Linked DNA regions of Homo sapiens: region 2 is linked to region 1. The links are contacts of gene promoters, found by promoter capture Hi-C in human tissues and cell types (Jung and others, 2019). All regions are on one chromosome and are shown on one strand. The core of a region is centred on a gene start or on the middle of the fragment in contact, and the rest is flanking DNA. Distances in the headings are between cores, read along the strand shown. Region 1 holds the start of MSI2 (musashi RNA binding protein 2). Region 2 overlaps MSI2 (musashi RNA binding protein 2).

Region 1 (6,432 bases), core at 1-2,500:
GAAACTTTCATGCGATGCCTTTGGAAGGCTACAGACATTGTCTTTTTGGAGTTTTCAGTGCATGAAGGTATGAAACCGCATTTATTAAGCACCTACTGTATGCCAGAACCCGTGCTGCACAATACTACTGCTGCTAAGGTGGGAGTGATTCTGAAGCCTTCTGCCACCCTAGCTACCTCTGCAGGTCGTGAGGGGTCTTGGGCTATTTCAGTATCATGCACTTTACTATCCTGGCATACAAAGGCTGGGTGAGAAATAAAATATATAACGAACGGATTACACAGGGGTTTCCTGAAATAACCACCCTTCCCATCCATCCCAGAGACACCCCAAAAGTACTTCTCGTTATATACAAACATTTGCTTTGAACCTCAATCATGTGACCTTGACTCCTATAACCTATCTTATTACATTTTTAAAACACTGTATGATTAACGCGGAAACCCTTTCTTCGGCACTTTCTCGCCACTGGAATCGCGTCAGTTTCTCAAAGTTCCAAAATAACCTTTCCCGGGCACGGATTGGTACCTCTACTGGGGAAGGGCGGGGAACCGCGCAAGACGTGCCGGTGTGGAGCCAGAGCCAGAGAGAACTTCCAGCGCAAAAGGAAAATAAAACTTGTGGCTGGTGTTTGTGCAGGAGGGTCTCCGCCATCCTGAAGCCCCCCGATCCTGGGGCGTCTCGGGGGCCGCCAAAGGAGCGCCAGGGTGTGGGTTTGCTCCCGACGTCCTTGACCTAAATTTCTGAGCGGTGGCTGGAAACAGGGCACAGCGGAGGGCGGGCGGCTGGTGCCATTCCCGGATCTCGGCGGCAGGGGCCGGCAAACTTGAATGGAGAGGGCGAACTAGAGAGGGTGGGGGGCGTCTTCTCCCAGGTCCGGGTGAGGAGCCGCAGCAAGCTCCCCGCGCCTCCCCTCCCCCGATCCACCCGCCCCCCGCAGCCCATGTGATCCAGGGAAGTCGGGGTGCGCTCCCCCTCGCCCTGCGCCCTGCCGGCCCGGAGGCGGGGTCCCCTCCGCCCGCGGGGTTCGCGCGCCACCCTTGTGGGTCCGGCCGTGGGGGGCCGAGTGTGCGCGCGCGGGCAGGCGGGGGCCGCACGGGGGTGCGTGACGTCACCGGCATTGGTTACACGACGTTCTAGAACTCCGCCCCACGTGCGCCGGGGAGGAGGGGGAGGAGGAGGAGGAGATGGGGGTGGGGAGGAGGAGGGGGAGAGGTGGGGATGGGCCGGGGGGGCGGGGACGGGGGGGTGTGCGAGGCAGCGGGGCTGAGCTAAGCCGAGCCCACGTGTGACGGCTCTCGCCGCTGCCCCGGCTCCGCCGCTCGCAGAGAGATTCGGAGGAGCCCGGGCGGGGGGGAGGAGGAGGGGGAGGAGGGAGCGGAGATCTCGGGGCTCGGAGCCGGCCGCCGCTCCGCTCCGATCGCTGTGGGGCTTGGTTTTTTGGGGGTGGGGGGGCGGGGGGGCTCAGATATGGAGGCAAATGGGAGCCAAGGCACCTCGGGCAGCGCCAACGACTCCCAGCACGACCCCGGGTAAGTTTCCAGCCGCTGCCCACCGCGCCGCCTTGGGCTCGCTCTCCTTGCAGCGGCGGGGACGGCGGTGCGCGGAGCCGGGCATCTCCCGCGCCCCCCCGCCTCTCCCGCGCGCCCCCCCCGTGGAAGTTACACACCTTTGGATTGCATTTCGCCGTCACCTTCTCCCCCACCCCACCTCCCGGCTCTCGCTCGCTCGCTCCCCCCCGCTTTCCTTTTAGCTTTTGTAAGTTACACGTCAAAATGGCCGATCTGACATCGGTGCTCACTTCTGTTATGTTTTCTCCCTCTAGTAAAATGTTTATCGGTGGACTGAGCTGGCAGACCTCACCAGGTAAGGGAGGGAGGGGGGGACGCCTGGGTCCCCCCCTTCTTGGCTTCTTTATTGCTCTTTGTTATCCCGGTGTAGGAGCCCCCCCCCCCCCGCCATTGGCTCCCCACTTCTCCTGTGCAAGGTTATTTTTTTTAAATAGCAAATCCTTTCTGAGCCCTCTATGCGACCTCTGTTGCCGAATTTCCCCCGCGTGTGCAAAAAATGCAAAAACAAAACAGAATAACAACAGAAAACTACTTTTGGATTTTGTCCTTGATCAAAATTTGCATTGCTTTTTTTTTCCACACCTTCTCTCCCCCCCCCATCTCTCTCTTTCTCTCTCTACAGATAGCCTTAGAGACTATTTTAGCAAATTTGGAGAAATTAGAGAATGTATGGTCATGAGAGATCCCACTACGAAACGCTCCAGGTAAACCATTCCCTTCTGGATTTTGTCTTTATTTTAGAACAAAGTTTAAGTTTTATTTTTGGAGGTGTCTTCGGAAGTAGCTAAGCGGATTAGAATGGGGCTCAGGCGCGTGGCTGATCTCGAACGGCGCTCTATACCACCCCCACCGCCCCCTAGTAACCCCAGAGGTTATTGTTAATTGGAGCTGAACTCTGGATACAGAGATACCCATCTCTCTGCTTTTAAGTCATTTTCCCGTCGCTTCTTTTTCTCTGTTTAAAATGACATTCAGCTTCATTTACTTTCGCATAGTTTTTTTTTTTCTTTTGATCTTAATGTGTGTTTCCCCCACACTCCCAGCTCCCCAAACTCTTAAGATCCCTCTTAGAAAGATGGTGGTAAATCTCTTCTAAGTGCCGGGCTTTCTTCGGAATAAAACAAAGCGTTAAGAAAGGGAAGGGGAGGAGGAGAGGAAACTGAGGTGGCCAAAGAGTGGAGGCACCAGCATTTTCCAAGTTACCTCCACCCTCCCTGCCCCCGTTCCACTTCCCCCGTTAACCTTGATGTTTTTTCTTGCGAGGTGGAGGGCTGTAGGCAGGAGGGGAATTGGAGGAGGGGAGTGGGAGGTGGGGGTGCGTGGGGGGCAACTTTTGCTCCTCATTCAGCCTTAGGTCTCACTCCTGGTTGCTTTCAATGGTGTCACATTTTCTTGTTTGTTTTTCTCCCTCTTTGTCTCCTTTCAGAGGCTTCGGTTTCGTCACGTTCGCAGACCCAGCAAGTGTAGATAAAGTATTAGGTCAGCCCCACCATGAGTTAGATTCCAAGACGGTAGGTTGCTTTTTGTTGTTGTTGTTCGCCCCTTTTCAGGAACGATCTGGGCATTGACAGCCCCATTTAAAGGGACAGTGCCTTCTTTTGCTTCTGTGCTAGAACTGGGTAGTTTTAAACTGAGCTAGCGAGTTGGCTCAAAAGTTTGCTGCTGTGGCTGGCTTTGGGGTTTTCTTTTTAGAGCCTGTCCCATTGCAGCTTCAGAGGCTGCCAAGGTTAGGCTTGGGGAGGAGAGGGTTCGGCTCCTGGAGAGTCTGCCTTCCCGGCCTGGGGACTGTGCAGAGAAACTCCACCAGAGAGCAAATGCAACTTTTCTTTGTCAGCCAAGCACAGCACGCGTTACCAACTGTGGCTGTGGGGATCAGCTTTGAGAAGGCACAGCCTGCTTTGTGGCCAAGGGGGACAGCAGTGGGAAGGAGGGGAGAGGGCGCTAATTACAGGTCCAGGCAACAGGTTTCTCTTGGGGCACTTGGGATTTGGAATGTGCTTTGGGAAGGGAAGGGGACGCTGGCGGAGCTGAGCTGGGCATCCACTGGGGTGACTCCAGATGGCATGAAATCTAAGGCTGATAAGGCCTGGGGGTTTCAAAGTGATTTTTTTTTCCTTCCTTTTCTTTCTCAGATCCTTTCATTTGAGTATGGGTACTTTTATACATCACAAGTTTTAAAAATCCAGAGTAGAAGGGGGAAGAGTCTCCAGGCAGAGGTCAGAAGGGGAAGGGAAGAAAGAGTGTCTGTATATAACAATACATTTAATGGGAGGGGGAGTGTGCAGTGTTTTATTTAGCCCCTGTGTGGGCTTCCTGCCTCTCCTCCCTTCCCTTTATGTCTACCAGAGTTTCCCCACGGTTTTTATTAATATATATCTGCCCCAAACAGAGGCCTTAAGATGACATTGGGCTGTAGTGCTGGGTTGCATGGAACTTCACTCCTCTGTGATGGGGTAGTGGGACAAGGCCAGAAATGGGGCTCTACTTCCATCCGCCTCTTATGAAAGTGAGCAAGACATTCCCTACCTCTGGGTCTCAATTTCCTCTTCTGTAAAATAAGTGGACCAAGGTGATCTTTCAAGCCCCTTTTGGCTTTAACATTGAATGGAAGAGAAGGAAAGCAAATAAAGAAACCTGGCAACCTTCGGTGCACTTGAATTGATTTTGCAAATTCACCCTCTTTCTCTGATCAAAGAGATCAGGAATGCGTGCCTTCTCCTAAGAAAGAAACCCACCTACACTCTTAGTTGCTTTATTAATTGTCCTGGACTTGTCATAGCTTGCATGCAGCCCAGCCTTTTGTACTTTTAGATAATTTAATTTCAGAAATGATTTGTAGGATGATAACAGATGTCTGAAAAATTTTTCTCTCCTTGATTTCGTGGCTAGCCATTTCAAAAAGCTAGTGAAATTAAAGAGGAAAATCTTTTCAAGGCAAATTTGGGAATTTATCATCCACCCCCTCTTGCTACCTGGGTGGGAGAAACAGTATTTGGTTTCTGTGGTGGCTGGTGGGTCATATTCCTCTGTATCAGGTGCAAAGCCTGCAGTTTCCCTCTCTGATTGTTTATAGACATGTTTTGGTCACTATTATTTAGTGTAACCTAGCTTTTGACTTTGTTTCAACGTTCAGTGCAGGAGGCAGAAGCGGTTGGTTTATTGACATGGAAACGAGGATCTTGTTTACTGTTACCTTAAAAGCTTTGTTTAGGTAACGGCCATTCACATCCAAAATAGTACCCTAGTCTTTTCCTAGAGGACTTGTAGATACAGTAAGTAGAGCTGTACCTAACTAACTAATGTTTTAATTTTTGGTAGTTTTCTTTTTTGTTTGTTTTTTAAAAAATAGTTGACAGGGATGTGCAAAAGGTTGGGATTTGCCATGCTTAACTTGACCCTTCCTCTCCTTCAGAGATCTCAGCGTGTAAACTTTGCACACTGAGGAACTTCGATCATGATATAATGCTCTGATACGGCCACACACCATCCAGGAGTTCTGAATTGGCTTTTTCGTTTTGTGATTTAAATTTTCTTTAGTACTTCACTTTCTTCATTGCACCTTACTTCTTCCAGCTCCTGGCACCTCCCTCAACATACCCCACACCTGTTACCCCATAAACAAGGTGATTTCTGATTGCAATTGTGTGCCGGCCAACTAAAAAAAACACCCTCTGGGGAGTATTTATAAAAAGACACCTCTGTCTTACGTACGTCAACAGAATGGAAAATCCACACCTGTTGTATTTCTCTTGTAGACAAGCGCTAGTCAGTGCTGGACACACCTGTAGATGCAGTAATGTTAATCTTTATGAAAGGGTAGTTTTCTAGATCAGAGATTTTTGTCTATTTTAGTTTTTGAAAAGTAATCTCTCATTTCTCAGGTGATGTTTAAAGGTAGGGAATGCAATGCAGACTTTTATTAGGTCTTTAAGCCCCCGTAATAACAGCAGGAAATCCTCATATGTCTTTCTGGCTGGGACCCTAGGTGATGTAAGTCAGGGAACAAATGAACTATCCTCCGTGCTTCCCACTCCCCACCCCCACCTCCCTACTTTCCTCCACAGCATTACTCTTTTCTCCCCTGCTCCTTCTCATGGCAGAAGTGAAAACAAAGCTCAGATTTACTTTTTAAAAGGAAAACATTTTAATATGAAAGCCAAAGCCTGGAAATAAATAACTGGTAGCATGTTTATACTATCTGTGTTACATTTTTACCCAAAGATTTGTGACATTTAGAAATTCAATGAAAACCGACAACGGGAATATTTTCACATTTCTTTCCTCCTCTTTTTATCTGTGCAGTCACTTTTTTCCTCCCTCACATCAGCCTGTTAGATTCACATGCTTCCAGGAGAACTGTTCTGAGCTGTACAGCTAGACCCTGATTGAGCATCATGCGTTTTGCAAGTGTGTGATTTGGACTGGAGGATGTTTTTCCACTCGGATTGAGGTTGGGGTAGGGGAATTCCCTACTTGTTGCACTAGATTCTGACTACTTCTTGTATTCAGTAACTTTTTTTTTTTTTTGGTGCCCTCCCCATGATGGGATTTCTTTTCTAATTTGGGTTTAGGTTGCTTATAGATTTTTACTCCCTGTTGTTTTTAAAATCCAGGTGGATTTAGCTCACATGCTTCATTTTCTTTACTTCAAAAAATTATTTTTTATCTTTTGAGGTATAGCTACAGAACAGATGATCTTTTTGGTTAATCCTGGGTAACTTTACTTTTGCTAAAATGAATTAATTAACTCAAGCAGAGCACTGTGTTGGATGTCTGTGGGGAGTTTTTGGATGTTGTTGATTTAAAAAATTTTTGGAAGCTCCTTTCCCTCCTGTGTTGTTTAGTTATCATCAGGGAGAAG
Region 2 (6,246 bases), core at 3,355-5,854, 270 kb after region 1:
GGGGGTAGCAGTGAGCCAAGATCATGCCATTGCACTCCAGCCTGGGTGACAGAATGAGACTGTCTCAAAGGAAAAAAAAGAAAAAAGAAAAACTCCTGTTCCCAGCTTCCCCTAAGCTTTTGGGCTCTCCTAGCATCTTGAATGAGGCCTGGCCTGTGTGTTCATGTTGATGAGTCTTCATAGCCCCCTGATATACCTGGGTGTGTGTGTGTGTGTGTGTGTGTGTGTGTGTGTGTGTGTGTGTGTGTGTGTGACAGAGAGAGAGAGAGAGAGACAAAGACAGAGACCGAGAGAGTTATCAGCTGGCTGGCTCCAGGATTGAATACCAGTTACCTTAACTGTGCCCCTTATTTTCCCTTGACTCACACAAGCCGCTTCTGTTTGATTCACATAGAACCGTGAGAAACAGTCTCGTATGTGAGACTGTGTTTTTCATTCTATTCAGTCTTTGTATATTCAAATTCTTCTAGTTTCAGCTCTTGCTGTTCTGCCAGATTTCCATCGCATTGATGGCTTCTCTGAATTAATAAGTATTTTGCAATTGCTGAAAAGTTTTCTACCCCCAAGCACTGGGACTTATCCATATTGATTTTTCTCCCGTTTCTCTTTCCTCTCTAGCTCCTTCTTAGATGTTGTATTTTGTAACGTGTTAATAGAATTTTTCTTTCGTCCTGACACTTTATCTATTCAGGAGGTCTTTGCGAGCCCCATTGTACAGCCGGACTACAGAGGAAAGAGCTGTATTCTTTATGACAATGGTTGCCCTAAAAACATATACAGATCCTCCCCCACGCTCACCAGGGTGGAGCGAATGTTGAGAGGGCGCTATTAGAAAACGTCCAAACTTAGGAAGGAAAAGGAGAGCCAATTATGCACTGTTGAAAGGAGGTTTTGAAAATACGTTTTAAAAAAAATCCAAAACATTTATTTCCTAAGGGAATCTGAGTCCCAGTACCAAAACATGGCCAGCACAGAAGGGCAGCTGTTTTCCTTACTGTTAGGCATTTTCAGTTCAAAATAAGGATTTGGCAAAAGTCTTAGAAAATATGGAGATGGGTGCAAAACAGATGTCACATTTACCTGCGTGATACCTGGCAGGACTCATCCCCCACCCACCCACCCACACCCCAGGCATTCGAATTCCTATTGAGTCCCAGGGTCTGAGTCTGAGATATGCTCATATCACCATATGCTCGAGTGTGACTGCTCTGTGTACAAACACACCAGTTGATCTTATGGTGATTTTGCCTGTGTGGTGCACGGGAGGTGGAACGGCTGTTGTGTGTGTGGCCCCAGCAGGTTACCGTCGGCGGGGGCTCTTGAAGCCTGCCCAAAAGGAGTTTGTCCTGCCTGGGATGGGCATGGGGATCTCCAAACTAGCATTGCCCACTCCCATCATCCTGGTGCCTGGGAGAGAGGGGGCAGCTGCCTGCTGGAGGAGCCACCATGCCAGGCCATTTTCCTCCCAGTAACTGACTTCAGAAATGGGGAGCAGAAGGGGAAGGCCCCAGGAGCCTGTTTGTTCAGGCTTGGTTGCTTAGCAACAAAAGGGGGCCCTGACTTGAGAAGAGATTTTTAAGCCAGGCCAGTCCCTTTGAGGTTTATGACCGGCTTGCCTACCCCCATCTTCCATTCTTACCTTGACTTTGCTCTTCCCCCTATTACATTTGATCGCATCTAGAAAAATACGTTTGATTTGTCTGCAGGCACCATTTTAAACCTTGGTTTATTGCTTTGCCCAGCGTCTTCCCCTCCATTGGAGATTGTAGTCTGGGAGGAGTGAGGCATGAATAGCCCACGATTCCTTTTCTCAAAGGGATTAGCGCCAGCCCCCAAGCTCATTTGTGAGCCTTTGAGTGCACATCAACGGTGCTCAGTCCTTCTTAGCCACAGGCACACAGTGAAATTGCTCTGAGGACAGGGCCCCCCGCTAACAGTTTTACCCCCCCTACAGCCACACGGACTGGGTTGTATTTTTACCATCAACCTTGAGCACAAAGTAAATGAAGAGAGTAGGCTGCACACTGGTCAGACCAGGTGCCCTCCCCCGGTGCGTAGCTGAAGGGTGAGGACAAACACCTGTGCTAAAGATGTGTGCTCTGTGGGATAAAGGAGTGGGTCATAAATACTCATAAAAGGAGTGCATTCCAGAGCGGAATCTGGTTCATTAAGTGTGAGTTCCTTGAGCTCTACGTGGGAGTTGAGTGTGGACCCTGAAATCTTATTGCCAGAAACATGCAGAAGGGGTTACAGGATGCGTGGGAGGGGTCTGGAAGGGATTAGCAAGAGAGACAGAGGACGCCTTTGCTATTTTATTATGTTCTTCTCTTTGATGTTTTTAAAAAGGTCCTAGCATCAGTGTATTTGTTTGCTAGTACTGCCATAATAAAGTAACGCAGATTGGAGGGCTAAAACAACAGAAATGTATTTTCTCACAATTCTGGAGGCTAGAAGTTCAAGATCAAGGTGTGGCAGGGTTGGTTTCTTCTGAGGCCTCTCTCCTTGGCTTGCAGTCTTCTCCCTGTGTTGGCACATGGTCTTCCCTGTTTGTGTTTGTGTCCTAATCTCTTCTGATAAGGACACCAGTCATATTGGATTAGGGCCCACCCTAATGATCTCATTTTAAATTAATTACTTCTTTGAAGAACCTCTCTCCAAATACGGTCACATTTTGAGGTCCTGGGGGTTAGGACTTCAACTATGAATTTTGGGAGACACAGTTGAGCCCATAACAATCAGGATGTTCAAGCTTCACTGTTTATCACTAAAAACAATTCACATGTCTATTAGAAGGGCAATAATTAAGTAAGCTATGGCTTCTTACACTGGGAAATATGCATCGGTCAAGATAGTAGTATACATGATATACTAACCTGGAAATTGTTTGCCATATTGTAATGTTACAGGTTAACAAAAGGACAAATTCCATATACTATATGATTTAAACTATATTGAAATAGTCATAGTTTTTTCTTTCTTTAGAAAAAAAATACTCCAGGCCTGGAGCAGTGGCTCACACCTATAATCTCAGCGCTTTGAAAGGCTGCTGCAGGAGGATCACTTGAGCCCAGGAGTTCAAGACCAGTCTGAGCAACATAGTGGGACCCTGTCTCTAAAAAAATAAAATAAAATAACTGGGCATGATGGTACATGCCTGTAGTCCCAGCTACTCAGGAAGCTGAGGCAGGAGGATTGCTTGAGCTCAGGAGGTCGAGACTGCAGTGAGCCGTGATGGTGCCACTGCACTCTAGCCTGGGTGACAGAGTGAGACCCTGTCTCAAAAAATAAAAAGCAGACACTAAAGGGAACTATATAAAATGTTAACTGTATACAACGGTGTGGAGTGGAAAGACCACTGTTTTTTTTTCTTTCTACTTTTTTGCATTTTCAAATATTTTTTGATAAGCAACTATTACTTCTGTAATGGAAACTACCCCCTCACCCCCCGACATGCATATAATGTTTTGTGTACTTTCTTAAAATTCCTAAGGCAGCCTGTATTCTATATTTGTTTTGCAGGTGGAAGATGCAATGCTGATGTTTGATAAAACTACCAACAGGCACAGAGGTAAGATTACCCCAGTGTAAGAGGGTTGCGTTCACCCTCTCCTGGCCTCTCTGTCTGTCATCCCCAGTCCCACTGACAAAAGATACAGTGAAGAGTCCAGAGTCAAGCAGGTAGAGGTGACCATCCATTGAAGATCTTTATTCACGGAGAGTCCCAGTAGCACAAAGAGTTCCAGTACTGGATAGCTGAAAAACCATTTCCTTCTGGCCTAGGAACTCCTGTTTAGTTATGCAGCCATCCCTGACACACATATTCAGATGTACCTCTCTAATCCTGCCTTTCTGGGTCCCTTGCTAACCTCGGCACTAAGCGATCCAAGTGGAAATTATTCACAGCAGTGACTCAATTGAGTTATCAATTTGTATTGAAGGAGGTTCTTTAGGAGCAGACTGTCAATCTAAAGAGCCAAAAAATCAAAATAAAACATTGTAGGTTCGTTGGGTGTGTAGTGATTACAGCCTTGGGAATGCTCCGTGGGGCCTCTGGAATGTGTAGAGGGCATCTGTACTTAATTGTGTTTTTCCCTGTGCTGCTTCTGTCCCATCCACTTTACAAAAAATGGGTCTTAACCTGGAGTCTATGAACCTCTGCAATGACATGCAAAATGTCATATGTTTATACTTTTCTTGGGTGAAGATCCCTAGGTTTGGACAAATTCTCAAAAGGGTCTCTGGCCCTGCCCTTAGTCTCTTCCTTCCCCAAAAAGAACACATTAAATTTATTGCTTTAAACAGAAAAATTGGAGGCATCTAGAAAAGTCCTCCCTGGAGGTAGCAGAGTCAAAGGAGGTGATGACTTAGTGTTCTGTTCTCCGGAAGCTCAGGTTTCTGGGGTTCCTATTAACAGGGTGTTAATGAGCAGAGCTTCCTAAGGGGGTGGCAGGAAATGGTGTGCTGGTGCCCTCAAGGGAGGGAGCCTGTGAGTGAGCAGCATTTCCTTGCCACTTGGATCGCATTTAGATGTTTCCTGTGTTGTTTACATTCCTGCTGTCACCTGTGATTAGAAACAGTTACCCAGCACTGACTGTATGTCTTTCCTGTTTGGAGAAGGCAGAGTGAGTGAAAGGCAAGAAGGAGTGGAGTGGGAATCATTGCTGGCGGGGCTGGGAGAAGGAGGGGGATATCCTGAGTGCGTCTGGTAATCTGGCTTCAAATGCATCCCTCTACAGCATCCTCAGAATGGGAGAATGGAGCATTGGGTGCACAACAGTGGTGTCAAGTGGTATTTATGGAGGGAAGAGATGGCAGGGGGTGGAGGGTGGGGAGCAGTGGAGAAGCAGGGAGAGAAAGGAGGGGCATGCAGGTGTGGAATGATCGATTTTGTCCACTGCATTGCTGGGGAGTGAGAGCCCAGTGAGTGAGATGAAGGTGGTGCCCGTGGTGGGCAATTGAGGATTATCCTCCATCATCATCCACATTCTGTCAATCTAGCTTTATGGTTTCCAAGCCGGACTTCCAGATGCATCTCCTAATGTGACCTTCACAGCAGCCCCTGGAGGGTTGTTGTGACATTGGGAAAAATCACTTAACTTCTTTATGCCTCAGTTTATTCATCTGTAGGATGGGGGTAATCATAGAACCTCCTCACAGGATTGCTCGGAGAGTGTAATGCCAAGCATCTAGTCAATTGTGCGTAAATGTTAGCTCTTATTATTAGCGTTATCATCACCTCCGTCCGGTTGGAAAAATAACCAAGGCTCAGAGGAGGCAACTGAGAGACCCATGGCTGAGCAGGGTCTCAGGACTATTGATTTCAAATTCTGCTGTTTCTCTGCTGTGTCCAGATGGGAATGCATTTGTTAAAAAGAGCACTGCCAGCTATTTATTTTCAGGGTGGGTGATGCCCATTTGAGTTTGGCACCTGGTGTTCAGTGTTAGAATTCATAGTCCTGGGAGATTCCAGAGTTGCCCCCAGGTGATACTGTTGTCCTTTTATTTTGAAAATCAGTGAAAGTATTTTTTGATCTGCTGTGTGTCAAGCCCTGTGCTGGGGGCTCACACTGGTATCGTCTCATTAACTCTCAGAGCCGGGCAGGGAGAGGGCTGGTCATGGCAGAGGTGGGGTTGAAACACCGGACTTTGGACTTCTGGGTGAAGGCCCAGAGGATGTGCCGGGAAAAGTCCTCTCTTATTTTTAACCAGATCCCTGTTGCTGTGGGTGAAGCCTCTTCCCTTTTTCCAAAAGGGAGAAAGGAAAGTGCTGGGCCGCAGAGATGGGGTGGCGGTTCGTCTGGGACGGGCGTGGGAAGAGTTTTTTGCCCGTTGTGAGGTGGAGGATGGTCTGTTGGAAGGCCCGCTGCTCAGAATGGCTTCGGGACATCATTGCTGGCTCTCCAGGAGTCCTGGTGGGCACTGGCAGGAAGGAGCGTGGGCAGGGCCTTGGTGCATGCACACTCCTGCCCCCAGCCAAGCCAGAACCTCTGCTAGCACCCTCGGACCTGCCAGAGCTGAAGATGCCTGCAGTGGGGGCAGGACCAACTCTAAAATGTGTGGAGCCCAGAACTAGAGGAAAGGCAGGGCCTCCTATTCAAAGATGATTGAGAAGCTGGCCTGAGGGGCTGCAGCCTGTGGAGGGCAGAGACATGCCAGGAAGCCTCAGCAGGGAAGAGCCGCCATCCCACTGCCCTCCCTCTCATCCAGGGCCCTCCCACTCTGCAATGTCGTTTCTGTGTGGGTGGG

Evidence for each region. Contacts are between HindIII fragments. The study calls those that stand out against the background at their distance.
Region 2: a contact is called between a fragment that was not itself captured here and the fragment with the promoter of MSI2 in region 1, in 1 of the 25 tissues and cell types used here (spleen).

What each region holds. Positions count from the first base shown.
Region 1 is chr17:57,255,273-57,261,704 of GRCh38, forward strand. MSI2 (musashi RNA binding protein 2) reads left to right here and starts at 1,251. Exons shown (of 14, transcript NM_138962.4): 1 at 1,251-1,532; 2 at 1,826-1,866; 3 at 2,194-2,275; 4 at 2,998-3,082. The coding sequence starts at 1,471. It overlaps LOC101927510 (a long non-coding RNA gene), which reads right to left and starts at 1,724. Exons shown (of 3, transcript XR_007065860.1): 1 at 1,670-1,724. RefSeq lists a silencer at 806-1,435 and enhancers at 3,414-3,503, 4,490-5,013. The HindIII fragment of the contact is 35,888 bases long and covers 1-6,280 here.
Region 2 is chr17:57,526,157-57,532,402 of GRCh38, forward strand. MSI2 (musashi RNA binding protein 2) reads left to right here. Exons shown (of 14, transcript NM_138962.4): 7 at 3,520-3,568. Among named protein-coding and RNA genes, the nearest start is that of MSI2-AS1, 79 kb to the right of the region's middle. RefSeq lists an enhancer at 1,652-2,484. The HindIII fragment of the contact is 6,344 bases long and covers 1,433-6,246 here.